3 separate regions of the Homo sapiens genome follow, and all the other regions are linked to region 1. Evidence: promoter capture Hi-C in 16 types of primary human blood cells and fetal thymus (Javierre and others, 2016). All regions are on one chromosome and are shown on one strand. The core of a region is centred on a gene start or on the middle of the fragment in contact, and the rest is flanking DNA. Distances in the headings are between cores, read along the strand shown. Region 1 holds the start of RNASE4 (ribonuclease A family member 4). Region 2 has its middle 2.4 kb from the start of TRL-TAG2-1. Region 3 overlaps OR6S1 (olfactory receptor family 6 subfamily S member 1).

The links. Contacts are between HindIII fragments. The CHiCAGO score rates a contact against its expected background, and 5 or more counts as called.
Region 2: a fragment that was not itself captured here is called in contact with the fragment with the promoter of RNASE4 in region 1 in 15 of 17 cell types (M0 macrophages, total B cells, megakaryocytes and 12 more); the score reaches 12.4 in M0 macrophages.
Region 3: a fragment that was not itself captured here is called in contact with the fragment with the promoter of RNASE4 in region 1 in 3 of 17 cell types (naive B cells, total CD8 T cells and activated CD4 T cells); the score reaches 5.8 in naive B cells.

The regions. Positions count from the first base shown.
Region 1 is chr14:20,682,025-20,686,287 of GRCh38, forward strand. It overlaps RNASE4 (ribonuclease A family member 4), which reads left to right and starts at 2,536. Exons shown (of 2, transcript NM_002937.5): 1 at 2,536-2,734. TRY-GTA5-5 (tRNA-Tyr (anticodon GTA) 5-5) reads left to right here and starts at 1,249; the gene lies at 1,249-1,337. TRP-TGG3-2 (tRNA-Pro (anticodon TGG) 3-2) reads left to right here and starts at 1,992; the gene lies at 1,992-2,063. It also overlaps a transcript of ANG not described here. RefSeq lists enhancers at 148-197, 918-1,227, 1,428-1,617, 1,758-1,887, 2,688-2,827 and silencers at 2,018-2,067, 2,338-2,457. The HindIII fragment of the contact is 4,966 bases long and covers 1-3,056 here.
Region 2 is chr14:20,620,838-20,625,100 of GRCh38, forward strand. No RefSeq gene overlaps it. Among named protein-coding and RNA genes, the nearest start is that of TRL-TAG2-1, 2.4 kb to the right of the region's middle. RefSeq lists an enhancer at 2,441-2,580. The HindIII fragment of the contact is 1,319 bases long and covers 1,829-3,147 here.
Region 3 is chr14:20,637,171-20,641,433 of GRCh38, forward strand. It overlaps OR6S1 (olfactory receptor family 6 subfamily S member 1), which reads right to left. Exons shown (of 1, transcript NM_001001968.1): 1 at 3,526-4,263. The coding sequence ends at 3,526. Among named protein-coding and RNA genes, the nearest start is that of OR6S1, 2.4 kb to the right of the region's middle. The HindIII fragment of the contact is 2,233 bases long and covers 1,380-3,612 here.

The DNA of each region.
Region 1 (4,263 bases), core at 1,286-3,785:
CCTGCTGACTGCCGGGCGGGAAATGGGGACAGCTAGGCGAGACAATAGCCCTTTAAGCTATTCTCAAGCCCCGGGTCTGGGCATATTTGGAGTAGAGATCAAGGTTCCACTTCTGAAACGGGAAGAGCCAGCAATGGCCGCTCCGGCCAGGCGTCCAGAAGAGAGATGCACGTTGTGAGGCAAGGTTTCATGTGCCAGTGGGGTTTTGGGAAATTAAGGGCCCGACTTTAGGGGCGAGACTTGGGTCACTAAATTTGATTTTAACGCAGAGAAATGTGGCCTTCCTTTTGAATGAGCTGCAAATATTATCTCCAAAAGCGAATTCACACAGAAACATTGGGTTTGCCCAGATGTCCTCTATTTCAGGGGTTCCCAACCCTTGGGCCGCGCACCTGTCCATGGCCTGTTAGGGACCCGGCTGTACAGCAGGAGGTGAACTCCGGGCTAGCTACCAGTACCGCCTGAGCTCCGCCTCCTGTGAGATCAGTGGTGGCATTAGAATCTCACAGGAGCGCGAACCCTATTGGGAACTGCGCATGCCAGGGATCTAAACTGCACTCCTTATGAGAATCTAAGTGATGCCTGATGATCTGAGGTGGAACAGTTTCATCCCGAAACCATCCCCCAACTCTTCCCCCCGCCCCCGCGGTCCGTGGAAAAACTGTCTTCCACGAAACCGGTCCCTAGTGCCAAAAATGTTGGGGACCACTGCTCCATTCCACACCCTCTCCCTCCCGTGTCTGTGGACGTGTAAGCGGAAGAGCCGAGATTGGGAGGGAAGCGCAGGAAGTGAGGACATCAGGGAGCCCGGGCCTAAGCCTGGAGGCCCGCCCTCTCCGGCGTTCACAGTTGCGCAGTCAGAATTGTGTGCGTCCCACCGCCTCAGCCCCCAGTTCTCCGACGCCCAGGTGCCGGTCCCCACCCTACACACAAACACACGCATCCACGCTCGCGAGGCCCCTGGGTCCGCGCCCAGTGAGGCCAACAGCCCTCGGGCGCCCAGAGGATGAGCAGCCTCGGTATGCCCGAGTTTCAGGGGCGCCTGCTCTGCTTGGGAGCCCCTCAGTGAGGCAGGGGAATCCAGATTTAGAAAGGTTGTCCTCAGAACCTCGGACGCAGGACTGTCTTACAAGCTGGCTTTGTGACTCTGCAGTAATTACTTTCCGGGTATAAAGAGATTTCTTTCTTTCCCGTCTCTGGTTAAGGATGTCTCGAGTAGGGATTTTTAGGAGAGTTGTTTCCGTGCTTCCTTCGATAGCTCAGCTGGTAGAGCGGAGGACTGTAGTACTTAATGTGTGGTCATCCTTAGGTCGCTGGTTCGATTCCGGCTCGAAGGAGACGCTGCTGTTTTGGGGTTTACGGTTGCTCTTCGTTTGTGCAAAAAATCTCTGTATCTTGACGTGATCAAATCTGTTTCTGTCTCTCACCCTTGTCCGAAGGAAACAGCTTAGCCGCGAGGTGGGCTGCGTTAATCGCGTCTTGAAAAGTTGGTTACCTTTCTGAAAGATAGTAGACCCGAATCGTCCCACCGTTGGGGGAAGGCACTGTTGTCTTACCGAAGTGTGTTATATTTTGGCTTCTACGTTAAGTCCAAAGGCCGGCAGATATATACGTATCGCGCGTCTGTCCTGGGGCTCAGTACCCTACAGCCTTGCAACCGAGCTCAGCTCTGGCCCTCGATCTCTATTTCAGCCCCCTCCAGGTTCCCTCCAGGCCCTAGCGGGCTTAAATCGCTCCCCGGGCTCAGTGAGACACAAGCATGTGACCTAAAGTCTAAAAAGCTGCCTTCCTTCACCCCATCCTGCATCTGGATCGAGGAGAATAAGCCAGAGAATAAGCCACACTTGAAACTTGGTGAAGATGGAAGGAATAACTAAATAAGGCCTAAGGGAAATGTCACAACAGAGGAAAAGAAACAAAACAAAAAACCTTCAGAACAGCAGGCGGAAAAGAGAAATTCAGAGTGATAGGAAGCACCACTCAGCTACAGTGGCTCGTTGGTCTAGGGGTATGATTCTCGCTTTGGGTGCGAGAGGTCCCGGGTTCAAATCCCGGACGAGCCCTCGTGGCTACTGTTTTTCCACCCCCTTTTGTCAACTACTGAAAAAAAGTCTCCGTTAAATTTGAAACACAAACTGTCTCGCGATGGGCTGTCCTGCCAAAGAAAGCAGCAGCGAATAAGTACGTGGCAGATGGTGCTGTCGACCAGTGTCAAGACCAAGTTTCATGGGTTCCTGGACGCTCAGCCAGGGGTAGTCTCTGAAGGGCCGCCTGGCAATTGGGAGCAGAAGCCAGTTTCCCGCCATCTGCTCTCCGTGGAGGCAGTGCTCTCGCGGCTGCTGCCCGTTGGGGTCCAGCTGAGGAAGGAGCGCGGATCCCAGGCTCGTTCTTTGCCTGGGCTGCCCCTGCGGCCCCTGGGGCGGGTGCTGCTGCGGCGCCAGCTCCAAGGGCGGATCCAGGCGGGAGGGGCCTCCTCGGAGAAGCGGGGCGCGGTCCCAACTACGCAGAGGCTGGCACGCCGACCCTCCACACCTCACCACGCCCCCATCTCCGTCCGTGTACACACACTCACACAAGGACGCCAACCCCACCTAGATGCAAAGCAGGATTCAAAAGAACATCTTTGCGTTTTCTACCGGCTCCCCATCATCGTACTAGGGAGGAAGAAGCGGGTGAGAAACAAAACTTCTTTCCATTGTCCTGCCCGTTTCTGCGGACTTGTTCTGAGGCCGAGGTAGGTTCACACTCCTGCTCCTCCTCCTCCTCTCTGGTAGCTTCATAAGGGGCGTTTAGGCCGGGGAGTCCTTTCCTAGTAGAGGCAGCTTGGGACTCCTTGGGGAGGAGTTTGCGGGACGGGGCTGGAGAGGGAGGAATGGGGAGGGACGTGAAAGTCCCGTATTTGTATGAGTTAACGACTTTACATTCCCACTCAGGTTTACTTTGCGCAGCTGGGCACAGATGCCAGCTTCTATTGATTAGTAGGCTTGGAGGGGGACCACAGAATCGCCGAACCTAAGGGAAGCCCTAGGAGGCCTGCACTTGCCCACAACTAAGAAAGCTTTGCTAGTTATTCAGGCTAATCACCAGCTTTTTGAAGCAGGCCTTAGTTTTTTGCAAGCGTAACTAACATTTGGGGATCGGTGTTTTCTGTTTACTCTCCTCTGCCTCCTCACCCTTAACCCACCCTCAGCCAGTGTTGTGCAATTCTTAGAGACACTTGCCAACAGCCTCTTCTCTAAGCCTTCCTACTGGAAGGTTGGGATCCTCCGTTTTCTCGCTCTGAGACAGCACGTCAAATGCTAATAGCAGCACATGAGTAAAGCGCAACATCTTTATTAAAACAATTTCAGCACCACTCAGGGGGCTAGGGAAATCTCAGATGAGCCAAGACCCTCCCTCGTGACAGTAAAAATCTTATAATCAAGTCATAATGTAATCAGTAGAAACCCAAGGGACATCATTATCTGTGGCACAGGACCACCTTCCCAGAAGCAGCCTCAGGTATTCAAGACTTACTTAACCACAGAGCCACTAACAAGTTTTGCAAGAGGATAGGTTTATTACATACGCTTCAATTCAAGCAATTCTTTTACTGATGACAAGCAGAGTAAAATAATTTTTGAATTTATGGTAATAGTCAATGTAGGTTTCCTTCGAACAGCAACTTTCAGTGGCCCCTTTAAAGTTAGCTCTGATTGTCTAGAAAGTACTAGTATGGAATATAAAAGTTGTGTGGGCCCGGCACGGTGGCTCATGCCTGTAATCCCAGCACTTTGGGAGGCCGAGGTGGGTGCATCACAAGATCAGGAGTTCGAGACCAGCCTGGCCAAGATGGTGAAACCTCGTCTCTACTAAAAATACAAAAATTAGCCGGGCACGGTGGTGAGCACCTGTAACCCCAGCTACTCGGGAGGCTGAGACAGGAGACTCTCTTGAACCTGGGAGGCGGAGGTTACAGTGAACAGAGATTGCGTCACTGCACTCTAGCCTGGGTGACAGAGCAAGACTCCGTCTTAAAAAAAAAAAAAAAAAAAATTGTGTGGTGCATTGGAAAGCTTCCAGGCCGGCGAATGCAATGAGTTCCTTGGGCAATACATGTCTCTTTCTCTGTTCCTCAGTTGGCTCTTCTTTAATATGAGGGGTGGACAGAGTCTCAGAGGCCCCTCCCACTCTTGTTCTATGACTCCATGGAGTGGTACGATGTTAGTAACAGGACATGAGGCACTCTAGTAATGTGGAGATGAACTATCGTTTGGCAGAGAG
Region 2 (4,263 bases), core at 1,238-3,737, 61 kb before region 1:
CTGAAGGAATAGACATGTGCCAGCCAGACGAACACATTGCATGTATTTGTATCAGGCATCTTTCCAAAAGGGTGGTTATCTATTTGCTTTAGATATTGGGCAATCAAGTATGCAGCAAATTTGGCATTCTACTAGGAAAGCCAAGACACCTGGCTTATGGGTCTCAGGGCACTTACTGTTTGAGCTGTGCAATCCAACATGTGATCCACTTCTTGAAAGGAACAGGCCAAGTTTCCTCCCTCCCTACTGAAGGATCCTGTGAGCACAAGGTGGGAAATAGGTACTCCAGCAACACTGAATAGGAAATTGAATAGGAGAAGCTATGCCCACTTGTTAGCAAAGGAACTTCAGCCAGGAACAGGAGAGTGTGGTACTTTCTTGATAAGAAAGTGCTCTGACGCCTGTCAGTTTGAGGAATTTGAACCTGCAGCATTCCAGGATCAAAGAGGGCTCTGCTGTGATGATAGGTTCTTTCCTGTTGACTGCTTCCTTTTATTGCCTGATCTGGCACTAAAACAGATCAAAATGAGCTCAGGCCACTTCCATCACTTGAGAATCTTCATATTTAAAAAAAAAAAGTCAACACATAGAGAAACTATGGGTTATTTAAATGAGTATTATGATTTTTTTTGTTTATTTGTTTTTGTTTTTGTTTTTAAATGGAATCTCTGTTGCCCAGGCTGGAGTGCAGTGGTGCGATCTCGGCTCACTGCAACCTCCATCTCCTGGGTTCAAGCGATTCTCCTGCCTCAGCCTCCTGAGTAGCTGGGATTACAGGCACATGCCACCATGCCCGGCTAATTTTTGTATTTTTAGTAGAGACGGGGTTTTGACATGTTGTCCAGGCTGGTCTCGAATTCCTGACCTCAAGCAATGTGCCTGCTTCAGTCTCCCAAAATGCCGAGATTACAGGCGTGAGCCACCACACCTGGCCAAATGAGTATTGTCTTCGTTCGTTTTGTGTTGCTGTAATAGAATACATGAGGCTGAGTAATTTAGAAAGAAAGAGGTTTATTTAGCTCACAGTTCTGCAGCCTGGGAAGTAGGAGAAGCATGTTACCAGCATCAGCCAGGCTTCTGGGGAGGGCCACTACACTAGGTCAAAACAAGGCAGAGAAGGTCAAAGGGGAAGCAGACACATACAAAGAGAAAAAAAGAAAAAAAAAAGTGAGGGCCTCTTGGCTGTATAACAACCCACTCTCCCAGGGAACTAATCCATTCCCAAAGGAAGTAATCCAATCTCACCAGAGCCAGAACTCACACACTACAGAGAGAAGGGCACCAAGACATTCATAAGGAATTTACTACTGTGATCCAAACACCTCCCACTAGGCCCCATCTCCCAACACTGACACATTGGAAATCAAATTTCGACATGAGTTCTAGTGGGGACAAATTAACCATATTCAAACCATAGCAGGTATGTTTATCAGACTAGCACTGAAACACAGAGACATAAATGTGACTGTAAAATCTCATCTGGAGAGCTCATCAAAAGTTTCAATATGAGACCCATTCATGTGCCCTAAGTCTCTTATTGGCTCAATTCTAGGTATAATAGCTCAACAGATATTTTAAATATTTGTTATCTCCCCTCCCATTCACCCTGCACAGCTCTTTCAAGTCGTAAAGAGCCCCAGGATCTTTCTTTTTTTCTTTCAAGCTGATGCTTCCCCGGCCTGCACACTGAGATGGTGGCACAGGATTCCTAGGATTCTCTCCAGCTTAAGAAGAACATTAGTCTTTCCACTTCTGACCCTGGCAAAGACTTGCGTGTACTGATGGAGGCAGTAAGCTCACACTCCTTTTCCCCTAAGGCTTCCTCCAAAGCTTGAAAACACAACGTGAAATTTCTTAGTAGTCATACATTCAGCCAAAGGGGCTGGCGACGGGTATTTTAATCTCTCCGTCTTAAGTGATGCGTAGGAGGCCATATCTTTGACCATCCTGCTGGATTCAAAACCTACGAGATGCTGCCTGCTGGCCTTGGGTGCTGACTTCCTCCTTCTAGGGAGAAAGAGACCTGGTCAGGGCCAACGGTGGGTACCCAGTGAGCTTAGATTGCCGGTGAGCTGGAGGTTGGTGAGGAGGGTGCTGGCGCCAGAGGGTGACGAGGCGTGAAGAGGGGGATGTAACACGGGGTGAGTTTGGGAGGCACCGCGGGGAGCCCGGACTAGAGTTGCGGGGGGGCGCGGGAGGAGAGCCTGCCTCCGACCTCCGAACGTCCCTGCCCTTTCCTATGCCGCCCCCGCTTCCCTGCCTGGGTTCTACGTTTATGCGGTGCTCCCTGAGCCCTATTTTAAAGCTGCTTTTTAAGAACTTCCTTTCTGCTCGCCTCCCCCAACTCCTGGCAGCGGTGACCGTGAACTCGCAGGACCTTCGCCCCCGCGGAGACCCAGGGAAGAACGCTTTTTTCCTCTCTATTCGCCCTCAACCTGACCCGCTGGGCCACCAGGGCTTGGGGAGAGACCTCAGAGGCCTAGAGCCAGGAGAGGCGAGAAAGGGTTGTGGTTTTTTTGAGTGATTGAGATGGGGGACAGAGAGAGCACTTAAAATTAGGCAACTTTAATTAGGCTCCCAGGAGAATTTCTGGATCCACAGACCAAGAAAACAGCCAAGTGGGAACAGCAGCAAAGAATATAAATAATACATAATCCAGGGCTTTGCGCCGAGTGGGGTTGTTCGCAGGTCAGTGATTCCCACTTTGGGTGCGGGAGACCCCAAGTATCACCTCTGAAACCGTTTTCTAGCTTTCCCTCTGCTCCTTTAGAAAGAAATGTTACAACACATGAAATAGATGCAGAAAAGGCTTTCTGTAAAATTCAACATCCCTTCATGTTAAAAACCCTCAATAATCTAAGTTTTAAAGGAACATACCTCAAAATAATAAAAGCCATGTGTGACAAACCCACAACCAACATCATACTGAATGGGCAAAAGCTGGAAGCATTCCCCTTGAAAACCGGCACGAAACACGGATGCCCTCTCTCACCACACGTATTAACATAGTATTGGAAGTTCTGACCAGGGCAATAAAGCAAGAGAAAGAAATACAGGGCATTCAAATAGGAAGAGAGGAAGTCAAACTCTTCCTGTTTGCAGATGACATGATCCTGTATCGAGAAAACCGCCTCATCTCAGCCCAAAAGCTTAAGAAAGCTGACAAGCTGCCGGGTGGGGCGGCTCACGCCTGTAATCCCAGCACTTTGTGGGGCTGAGGCGGGTGGATCACCTGAGATCAGCAGTTCGAGACCAGCCTGGCCAACATGGTGAAAACCCATATCTATTAAAAATACAAAAAATTAGCCGGGCGGGCGTGGTGGTGGACGCCTGTATTCCCAGCTATTCAGGAGGCTGAGGCAGGAGAATCGCTTGAACCCTGGAGGCGGAGGTTGCAGTGAGTCGAGATGGCACCACTGCCATGGGTGTTGCCTATCCAGCCTGGGCGACAGAGACGCCGTCAAAAAACAAAACAAAACAAACAAACAAACAAAAAACAGCAGGCAAGTAGAGAGCCAAATTAGGAATGAACTCCCATTCACAATTGCTTCAAAGGGAATAAAATACCTAGCAATACAGCTAACAAGGGAAGTGAAGGACCACTTCAAAGAGAACTACAAACCACTGTTCAAGGAAATCAGAAAGGACACAAACAAACGGAAAACAGTCCATGTTCATGGATAGGAAGAATCAACATCATGAAAATAGCCATACTGCCGAAAGGGAGGGAGAGAGACAGAGAGAGAGAGAGAGGAAAGAGGGAAGGAAGGAGAGAAAGAAAGAAAAGAGAGAGAGAGAGAAAGGAAAGAAAGAAAAGAAAAGAAAAGAAAAAAAGAAAAGAAAAGAAAAAGAATGAGCAGCACCAGGGCTCCAGGGAAGCCCGGGACCACCCTTTCTGCGCTGGGGATGCCCTTGGAATGTGACCTCCCTCTGGGGAGCCGTGCTACTGCCATGGGCGTAGGCGTCGGTCTACCCGAGCGTGCAGAGCGGCCTTCTTCCTCAACAAGAAACCCGGCAATTGCCCAACCCAACCTCTCCTTGCTCAAACTGCAGGAGGGAGCGGCCATCGAGTTTCCTTTGAACGCGGTGACAGGCTTACAGGTCTGTGAACGAAAGGGCGCCTAATAAGTGACGTGAACTTCGACCCCATGGCACTCTAAGCAATATTTGTACCCACAGAACCACGATCCAACAGCAAGGAGTTCTTATTCTTCAGTCTTCTCGAATAACTTTCAAATCACCAGTAGGATTTTTAAAGTCTCC
Region 3 (4,263 bases), core at 1,246-3,745, 45 kb before region 1:
CTGAGTTTAGCATCATTGTCATTATCAATGATGTCATTAAGAGCTTCATTTATTTATTTAATTTTTGAGACCAGGTCTCACCCTTTGGCCCAGGCTGGAGTGCAGTGATGCGATCTTGGCTGACTGTAGCCTCGAAATCCCAGGCTCAAACAATCCCCCTTGTTGGCTTCCCAGCATGCTGGGATTGTAGGCGTGAGCCACTGCACCTGGCCTTATTCAGAGTTTTATATGTAAAATGATGCAAACAGAAGCATTTTCTACTTCTTCTAAATTAAGTATATTCTGTCTTAACTGTATGTTTAAAAACAAAATACAAATTTCATGTCAATGAAGGTAAGATCTTTGAAAGGAAAGCTTAGAAATAAATATCAATAAACAGATTTTTATTTATTCTTTTATTTAATCACAAACTTTCATGGACACACAAGTTTGTATCACTGTTATATGCATGCACACATTCACATGCGCACTCAATCTACACATACCATCATACCAAAATTTCAGGCAAATTTATTTCATATAATAGTATGAATAAAGACGCTTGTCATGGTACCTTTATAGAAATTCGAAGCCAGGCGCGGTGGCTCACGCTTGTAATCCCAGCACTTTGGGGAGGGTGAGGCTAGCAGATCACCTGAGGTCGGGAGTTCCAGACCAGCCTGACCAACAAGGATAAACCCCGTCTCTGCTAAAAATACAAAATTAGCTGGGTGTGGTGGCACGTGCCTATAATCCCAGCTACTCGGGAGGCTGAGGCAGGAGAATCGCTTGAACCCGGGAGGCAGAGGTTGCAGTGAGCTGAGATCACGCCATTGGTTTCCAGCCCGGACAACAGAGTAAGACTCCATCTCAAAAACAGAAAAAAAATTATATATTTATATATTCATATGTATTATGTCTACCCCAAAAGTCTATGAATTCCTTGATGGCAGGGGCCAATATTTGTACCTCTAACATACCAACTTACTTCCTAGAACACAGTATTCAACAAATTTTATTGAATTAAATTGAGCCCAAAGTTATTTTTCACAATGAAACACATGTTGAAAATGGATGGTTTAACATGCTTTATTGCCATAATATGTGGCAATTACTTCAAGAAATGCTGTAAATTGTTGCATGAATTCCTTTCCTTGGCCAGTGGCTGGAATAGACTTCAGATTTTTATGTTTCATGAAACTAGGTAATTTTTAAGGCGATATTTCATCTCCTCTCTGGGCAACACTTCTAGATCACTCCAGAAGAGTTATTTTTACCTTCGAATCATTCTTTCCATTCCTTTAGTACTCAGAAATATTTTGGAATAAAATTATCTAGTGTGTTTGCATGCATTATGAATAGAACTAGATAAAAACATTTCTATTTTCCATGCCCACTGAAGCTTATGGCTAACTCTTTTGACGCTAATACGCACTTTGCCAGTTTTGCAGCACTATTTTGAGTTTAGTATGCTGTCGATACCTTGATATTTACATGTTTTGTACATCGTTCCTATGTACACACACTCTAACGTGACAAATCCTGTTTAATGAATGATGACCTCTGTGAAAATTTCTCTAACAAGAAAATGCACTGGGAAGAGTAAACCAATTTTTATAAGATCTCCAATGTCCTTTTGTAAATCTCCTTCTCATCCACATTTCCTTAAATTATTATCCGTCCCTTAGTTCTAAACTCTAAAGTTCAAGCTGCTTGAGGTTAGAAACAATTTATTCTTGTTCATCTTTGTATATATTCATATATCACAGTGTTCAACAAAGATTCTTCACAGACCTTTGCTGAATGAATGAATGAATAAATAAATAAATAAATAAATAAATAAATAAATAAATATTTGTTTCCAAGATTTCCAAAGGGATTTCCATGAATAGGAATCCCTTTTCAAATGTCCAATAAACTAGACAAAATTTACTACAAAGTTTGGTTCTTGGTAGATACAACAATATTTGGCATTTGGCATTCTTTTTTTTTTTTTTTTTAGATGGAGTTTTGCTCTTTCGCCCAGGCTGGAGTGAAGTGGCACGATCTTGGCTCGCTGCAAACCTCCGCCCCCTGGGTTCAGTGATTCTCCTGCCTCCTTATATAATGCCTCCTTATATAATGAAATTATATGAAATTACCCTTTTTGGTAGCTGGGATTAAAGGCGCCCGCCACCACGCCCGGCTAATTTTTGTGTTTTTGTAGAGGCGGGGTTTCGCCATGTTGGCCAGACTGGTCTAGGAACTCCTGACCTCAGGTGATCAGCCTGTCTCGGCCTTCCAAAGGGCTAGGATTACAGGCGTGAGCCACCGTGTCCAGCCTATGTGGCATTCTTAACTCTTTAATATTAAAGCTCCTTATTTTACTAAAAACAAAAGAAGATTTCACACAACAGATACAAGAATGTAAAAAGATGAACAAATGAATGAAACATAATCCAATGACAAAACGAGTGGAGATGTCTTTATCAATGTACTAAAGTGCACACTAGAAGAATACAGTAAATGCTATTACTCATGAAATCCCTCACTGATCTGCTTTCCCAACAGCACCTGGAATTACCACAGAGAAGTAATTAAGTCCCTTTATTAAATTTGCTTCACCTCTTTTTCCTCTAGCATTAAATGTAAATTTTTCTAACAAGCATGTACAAAAATATACAGATAATCTATTTTTATTTCATTTTATATCTATAAGGAATTTTTTCTTAAAATTCTTGACTTGCATAAACAGTTGGAAGGCTCTACTTAGACTTGCAATCAGTTTTTAGCTTTTGAGGAGAGTGCACGAATGGATTCAAATGTTGAATTAAAGCTACAGTCCCTCTTCTCAGACAAATGCATATATATTCAAGCACATAAAATTTAGATACCTATTGGGCATATAAATTTTCTGAAACCCATCCTTAGATTCCCTACATGACCATGGACCCATAGGTTAAGACTCACAGGTTGGAAGGTCTTAGGAAGTGGCGATGATATTGATCACGATATATCAATAATAATAATAAGTATTATTATTATTAGGTATGATCTAGGATCAAGAAATTTTGCCTGAAAGAGAAGAAGGTGGATTGATGACCTGAGAATTCATTAGTAGTTCCAGAATTCAGTCTTTTGGTGATATCCATAATGAAGACGGAAAGGAGCATGATAATGAGAATATTTGGATTTTAAAATATGATTTTTAAAAATGACAACAAGACCAGGTGTGGTGGCTCACACCTGTAATCCCAGCACTTCGGGAGGCTGAGGTGGGTGGATCACTTGATGCCAGGAGTTTGAGACTAGCCTGGTCATCGAGTGAAACCCCATCTCTACTAAAAATACAAAAATTAGCCAGGTGTGGTGGTGGGCACATGTAATCCCAGCTACTCAGGAGGCTGAGGCAGGAGAATTGCTTAAACCCAGGAGGTGGAGGTTGCAGTGAGCTGAGATCGCGCCACTGCACTCCAGCCTGGGCGACAGAGTGAGACTTTCTCTCTCTCTCTCTCAAAAAAAAAAAAAAAAAAAAAAAAAAAAGACTAGTTACTAGACTCTTCACTTTTACTTTACTGCTTTCTCACTGAGACATTTATCAAGTAAAAGATTCCCTAAAACGCCTGCCACTACCTTCCTAAACATGTCCTTCAAAGCTTCCTTGACTTGCTCATTACGTAAGGCATAGATGAATGGATTCAACAGTGGTGTCACAAATGTCGTTATTACTGTCACTGCCCAGTTAGTGTCCACAGAACCACTCTGCGATGGCCGCACATAGAGAAAAATGGCACTTCCATAGAAGAGGGTCACCACTATCAAGTGGGAGGTACAGGTAGAGAAGGCCTTCTGACGGCCTGAAGCAGAGGGGATGCTCAGGACTGCCAGCACAATGAGGCCGTAGGACACAGCAGTGATCAGCAAGGAAGATACAATGACGAGGGAGGCCAGGACAAAGTCAGTCTCCTCCAGCTTCTTGGTGTTGGTGCAAGCCAGGCGGAGCAGTGGGCCACTGTCGCAGAAGAAGTGCTGTACCACAGCACCCTGCTTACAGAAAGGAAGCAAGGCCACAGCCACTGTGGGACCAAGCACAGGGACGAGTCCCCCCACCCAGCAGGCCAAGGCCACACGAAAGCACACAGCCCCACTCATGAGCAAGGGGTAGCGCAGAGGATGACAGATGGCCAGGTAGCGATCCGCAGACATGACAGCCAACAGTAAGAACTCGGAGGCCCCGAGAAAGAAGTAGAAATAGAATTGGGTGATACATGCAGCAAAGGAAATAGTGTGTTGCCTTGAGAGGAA